2 separate regions of the Homo sapiens genome follow, and region 1 is linked to region 2. The links are contacts of gene promoters, found by promoter capture Hi-C in blood cells and fetal thymus (Javierre and others, 2016). All regions are on one chromosome and are shown on one strand. Each heading gives the region's core, a stretch centred on a gene start or on the middle of the fragment in contact. The rest is flanking DNA. Distances are from core to core; before and after follow the strand shown. Region 1 overlaps SETD1A (SET domain containing 1A, histone lysine methyltransferase). Region 2 holds the start of AHSP (alpha hemoglobin stabilizing protein).

What was found. The method cuts DNA at HindIII sites, captures the fragments that hold promoters and counts their contacts. A CHiCAGO score of 5 or more calls a contact.
Region 1: a contact is called between a fragment that was not itself captured here and the fragment with the promoter of AHSP in region 2, in 1 of 17 cell types (total CD4 T cells). The highest score is 6.0, in total CD4 T cells.

What each region holds. Positions count from the first base shown.
Region 1 is chr16:30,968,039-30,971,227 of GRCh38, reverse strand. SETD1A (SET domain containing 1A, histone lysine methyltransferase) reads right to left here. Exons shown (of 19, transcript NM_014712.3): 11 at 1,766-1,923; 12 at 1,539-1,626. Among named protein-coding and RNA genes, the nearest start is that of SETD1A, 12 kb to the right of the region's middle. The HindIII fragment of the contact is 6,620 bases long and covers 1-3,189 here.
Region 2 is chr16:31,526,558-31,529,538 of GRCh38, reverse strand. AHSP (alpha hemoglobin stabilizing protein) reads right to left here and starts at 1,639. Exons shown (of 3, transcript NM_016633.4): 1 at 1,577-1,639; 2 at 1,325-1,403; 3 at 736-1,081. The coding sequence starts at 1,399. The coding sequence ends at 848. The HindIII fragment of the contact is 1,316 bases long and covers 1,316-2,631 here.

The sequences.
Region 1 (3,189 bases), core at 21-2,520, 560 kb after region 2:
TCACTGTGAGATAAACATCAGCATGCGGGGAGGATGGCAAAGGAAGCCCCAGACTCTGTCTGAAGAGGCCCGAAAAGGAAAGCATCCCAGGGGACAAGCTGAACTCAAGGACAAGGAGTCCACCACACAGACATGGGGACTGCACAGGGATGTCGGAAGCAAGAGGAAGTGGAGGCTTGGAGACTGGGAAGCAGGCTGCTCTGGCACTCAAACCTTCCTAAAGTGGGTCTCAGGACCCAGTCTGGACGAAGGATTGGGTGAAAAAGGATTCTGGGCTGAAAAGGTTAAAAAACACGACAGGCTCTATATTCTGAGACTGCTCATGTACGGGAAGGACTCGAAAAAACTGAAGAATTTCACAGTTTTTGAGGAACAGAATTGGATAAGTTAGACTAGAAGGTGGTGGCAGCTGGGGAGCGGACTGGAGGAGGGCGAGATGGAGCTGAACAGAGCAGGGCCAGGAGATAAACGGCCCATGGTGTTGGCCTGGGGGGACACCCTGTGGAGAACAAGTTGCCAGGAAGGACCTTATGGAGGGAAGTCACAGGGTCAGGAGTGCATTTTAGGAAAGAGATTCTATAAGCAGTTTGGAAAATGGACTGGAACAGAGGGAGAAGGACAGAAAGAGAGACAGGGAAATCAGTCAAGACTGCTGCAAGAGGCTGCGTGCAGTGGCTCACAGGTGAAAGCCTAGCACTTTGGGAGGCCGAGGTGGGTGGATCACTTGAGGTCATGAGTTTGGGACCAGCCTGGCCAACATGGTAAAACCCCATCTCTGCTAAAAATACAAAAATTAGCCAGGTGTGGTGGCTCACACCTGTAATCCCAGCGCTTTGGGAGGCTGAGGCAGGAAAATCGCTGGAACCAGGGAGGCGGAGGTTGCAGTGAGCCAAGATCACATCACTGCACTCCAGCCTGGGTGACAAAGCGAGACTCTGTCTCAAAAAAAAAAAAAAAAAATCTGGGTGTGGTGGCTCACGCCTGTAATCCCAGCACTTCCAGAGGCTGAGGTGGGTGGATCGCCTGAGCTCAGGAGTTCAAGACCAGTCTGGCCAACATAGTGAAACCCTGTCTCTACTAAAAATACAAAAAATTAGCTGGGGGTGGTGGTGGGTGCCTGTAATCCCAGCTACAACGGAGGCTGAGGCAGGAGAATCTCTTGAACTCAGGAGGCGGAGGTTGCAGTGAGCCGAGATTGCGCCATTGCACTCCAGCCTGGGCGACAAGAGCGAAACTCTCTCAAAACAACAACAACAACAACAACAAAAAACAAAACAAAAAAAGCGTTCTGCCAGGCTGTCCTTTTGGACAGCTATGTCTCAGCAGAAGAGGGAGCAGGAGGGAGCATTTTGAGCACTGAGCTTATTGCTGTCAAGGGGCCAAGGGTTCCTAAGAATGTGGCCCAAACAGATGCCCTTGCAGAAGGCAAAGGTGACCCACAAGCCCAGCAGGAAGGTCATGTGGGCTCAGAAAAGGGCTAGCCAGGCAGCCGAACCCCTCCTCCGAGCCCAAAGTCGATTTCACTGTCTTGTGCTCACCATCCGACACCTCTGTCTCCTTCTTTGTGGTATCCACAGCTTCCTCTCGATCTTCATCTTCCTCATCTTCCTCGTCATCCTCCTCATCCTTAAGAAAAAAGACAAATGAGGACTAACAGGAAGGGGACAACTGGTCCTACACCAGGCACAGCTGCCTGGGCTCCAACCACAAAGATGCTGGCTATGGGAAGTAGGCTTCGGCCAGGAGCCGGCGCCCGGGCCCTCACCTTCTCCGAGGAGGACTCCTGGGATGCCTCCTCCCCTTCGCTGTCCAGAGCAAAGGACTTGCGGTGCTTGCCCTGGGTCTTGCCTCGCTCTTCGTCCCGCTTCGGGGGCTTGGTCCCCGGACGTCCTGGCTCTCCAGCCTCCTTCTCTTGTTCAGGGTCTAGGCCAGCAGAGTGGTAGTTGGGGAAATTTACCATCAACCACAAGATACTTGCCCTGTGCAAGGGGCTTTACATATACTATTACCAATCTTCCTGATGGTCTTCATTTCACAGATGAGAATTTGGAAGCTCACCAGAGGAACTCAAACACCTCAGTTACCTCATGTTTCATAGTTTTGTATTTGTTTTTGTTTTTGGGACGGGGTCTTGCTCTGTCACTCAGGCTGGGGTGCAGTGGCATGACCACAGCTCACTGCAGCCTCAACCTGCTGGGCTCAAGCGATCCTCCTGCCTCGGTCTCCTGAGTAACTGGGACTATACAGGGGCATGCAATCATACCCAGCTAATTTTTAAAAATTTTTGTAGAGACAGGGTCTACCTATGTTGCTCAGGCTGGTATTGAACTCCTGGGTTCAAGTGATCCTCCTGCCTCAGCCTCCTGGAGTGCTGGGATTATAGGCGTGAGCCATCGTGCCTGGCATATATATATATATTTTTTTTTTTGAGACGGAGTCTCGCTTTGTCGCCAGGCTGGAGTGCAGTGGCACAATCTCAGCTCACAGCAGCCTCTGCCTCCCGGGTTCAAGCAATTCTCCTGCCTCAGTCTCCCAAGTAGCTGGGACTATAGGCACCCGCCACCACGCCTGGCTAATTTTTCTATTGTTAGTAGAGACGGGGTTTCACCATGTTGGCCAGGATGGTCTCGATCTCTTGACCTTGTGATCCACCCGCCTCGGCCTCCCAAAGTGCTGGGATTACAGGTGAGCTCCACCCTGCCTGGCCTTAATATATACAGATACGCATATGTGTGTGTATATATATATGTGTGTGTGTATATATTTGTGTGTATATACATATGTGTGTGTACATATATATATATATATGTATTTTTTTTTTTTTTGAGACACAGTCTCGTGCTATCACCCAGGCTGAAGTGCAGTGGCATAATCTTGGCTCACTGTAACCTCCACCTCCTGGGTTCAAGTGATTCTCGTGCCTCTGCCTCCCAAGTAGCTGGGATTACAGGTGAACACCACCATGCCTGGCTGTTTTGTATTTTTAGTAGAGACAGGGTTGTGCCATGTTGGCCTGGCTGGTCTTGAACTTCTGACCTCAGGTGATCCTCCTGCCTCAGCCTCTGGAAGTGCTGGGATTACAGTCAGGAGCCACTGCGCCCAGCCCACACAGTTTTAAATATGTCCTGTCCATTTGATCTTGTATCATTTTCTGGTCGGGTGGAAGAGGGAGCTGACTTGTTATGCCTG
Region 2 (2,981 bases), core at 390-2,889:
GACTGCGCCGCGGGTCTAACACCTTCATTTCGTTTTTAAAAAGCTCTTGAGTCTGGCCCGTCCCTGGTTCCGCCCAGAGCCCTAAAATAGAGGCTTCGAGTCTGGAGGTCTGGGAGAAAGGGAGCTAGACCGGGAATTGATCTGAGAAGCTTGGGGTGGGGGGAAGGCGGATTCCTCTGCTTCCCAATCCTGGCATCTGCGCCCAGGGATGTTGGAGCCAAAGGGAAGTGGCTTCCCCTCCTGAAATATAAGGGGCGCGCTAAAGGGTTCCCAGGATCCCTTCCAACTCTAAATTCCTGCGATGCCTGGGGCTCCGGGGAGGTATTTTGCGGTAGTCAGAGTCCGAAGATCCTAGAATGTAGTTTGAGCTGGGGCTAAGGACAGGGGATTGAAAAGTCGAGGCGGTGGACCTGGCGCAGGATGAACAAGACTGGGAGACTTCCAACAGTTTCCTCCTCGACAAGCAGGTCACAGGACAATGTCTGGAGGACTTCTATCCCCCTTTCTTGTTTCTGCCACCCCCTCCCCTGCAGCTCTGCACTCTCTCTAGTCCCGCCTTCCTGGCCCTCGTTCAGCCTGTTTTAGTTTAGAATCGCTGCCCGGTGGTCACTCAAGGCTGCTAACCTCTGCTGTAAGGAATTAAGCTTCCAAGAGCATATCTAAGAAGGAGGGCGGAAGGAAAGGGACCGAGTGCCTCCACATGTCAGGACAGACCATGAAAGAGAAGCCAGGAAGTCCAACAAAACCAGCACTGGTCTTTATTGAGGTGTCAGGGTAGAGTGGCAGGAGCACAGCCTAAGGACATGAAGGTCAGAGTTTCTCAGAGAGGAGGGGCTGGGTCCCTGAGCTAGGAGGAGGGCGGTGGGTGACTCGGGAGCTCATGAGACTTCAGGAAGTCCCTGTACTTGGCCAGGAAAGGGTTGGCCAGAGTGTTCAGCTCTTGCCGAAGCTCCTGCAGAGCCTTGTCTCGCTCTTGGGGCTCCCCTGTCACCTGCTGCCTGTAATAGTTGATGTAGAAGTTCATCCAGTCCTCCACCACAGTCACCATGTCTTCTTCAGAGACGAGAGGATCATTGAAGACCTGGGGGGTTGCGGAGAGGCAGTTGGCAAGGGAGAATGTGGTCAGCAATGGGATTCGGGAATACTAGAATAGTGCCACAGCACCAACTCTCACATTCTCTTTCCTCTGCATTGTATCCCGTGTCTCTCGTTGTTTCCATCAACTCCACCATTACTTCACCAGCTCCAATTATCCTCTTCCTCCACTTCCCCGGCACCCCCCAGTCTCCAGGCCAGTCCTTTGAAATGGAAAGCTTGGACTCACCTGCTGATTCAGCAGAACGCTGAACTCCTTCAATCCTGCGGAAATGAGATCCTTATTGGCCTTAAGAAGAGCCATCTGCCTGGGTAGAGAAAAGGGTAGAATTTACATATCTGTTTCCCTCCTCACTGGGTATTTCCCCCAACCCACTTCCTCCCCTTAAAAATCCCTCCTGCCCTGCAGGGCTATCTCCTTTCCAAAACCTTTCACATCCTGCCCTGCTCTGAGGTCACGATTTTCCCAGGTTGGGCTCACCTTCAGGTCTAACAGGCTGTATATGTCTCACCCACACTCTTGAGGGTGCGTGAATCTCTCTGTGCCAAGCTATAGATGTAGGCAAGGAGTCAAGTGTCAGCCTAAGATAGAAACGCCCTGCATCTAGGTCCTGAAGGAGGGTGATAGGTCATTCTAGGGAGGAGAAGAAGGGAGAGGCTTCCCTGAAGGTAGAAAGATAACAAGGCCAAAAAAAAAAAAAAAAAAGATAAATGAGGAAACCCAGGAAATGCAAGAAGGCAAGAGCCAAACCAGGGGCATGTTCCTGCTTTTTGCCCCATATTTCAGTATCCAGGCTCGAAATGCTATGGAAATTGACGTTTACTGAGCCCTATTACATGACAGAGGCTTTTGTGTAATCACAACGATGTGATCGCAATGATTCTCCCAATTCGGAGATGATGTATTAATAGCAGCTTGCATTACATTTATTCATTTGTGCCAAGCACTGTTTCAAACATGTACAAAATATTTATCCTATAAAATTTCTTTTTAGACACATTTTGCAGATAAGCCACCTGTAAGCGTGTGGACTGAACTCCACCACGCTGTGCTCCATAAGAATGGAGATAAATAGCCGGGCGTGGTGGCGGGCACCTGTAGTCTCAGCTACTTGGGAGGCTGAGGCACGAAAATCGCTTGAACCCAGGAGGCAGAGGTTGCAGTGAGCCAAGATCACACCACAGCACTCCAGCCTGGGTGACAGGGCGAGACTCCATCTCAAAAGAAAAAAAAGAATGGAGATGGATTTGTCTTGTTTACTACCCTGTCAACAGGTACCCAATAAAGCAGAAATACTCTTTTTCCTCTTTTTAAATATTTTTCCAGATATTTTCCATTTTCAGTAGATGTTTCTCAAATTTCAAAATCACTATATACTAATTGAAATAATTAAAACAATACAAAAACGTACACTGAAAAACTGAATCATTTTTGCCCCCTCCAAAGTAACCAGCATTAAACATTGTATATTTCCTGTCACTTTTTTTTTCCATTCAAAACCCAACATTCATAGGTGCCTATACACTCATAAAGCTTTGTTGATTTGCCTTTTTGGTTGTAGCATTTTTTAATCAATATACAGCAAAACTGACTTCCTTTTGGTGTACAGTATATTAAATTTTTTTTTTTTGAGAGGGAGTCTCCCTCTGTGGCCCAGGCTGGAGTGCAGTGATGCGATCTCAGCTCACTGCAAACTTTACCTCCCAGGTTCAGGCGATTCTCCTGCCTCAGCCTCCCAAGTAGCTGGGATTACAGGCGTGCATCACCACGCCTAGCTAATTTTTGTATTTTAGTAGAGATGGGGTTTCACCATGTTGGCCAGGCTAGTCTCGAACTCCTGACCTCAAGTGATCGACCCACCTTGGCCTCCCAAAGTGCTGGGATT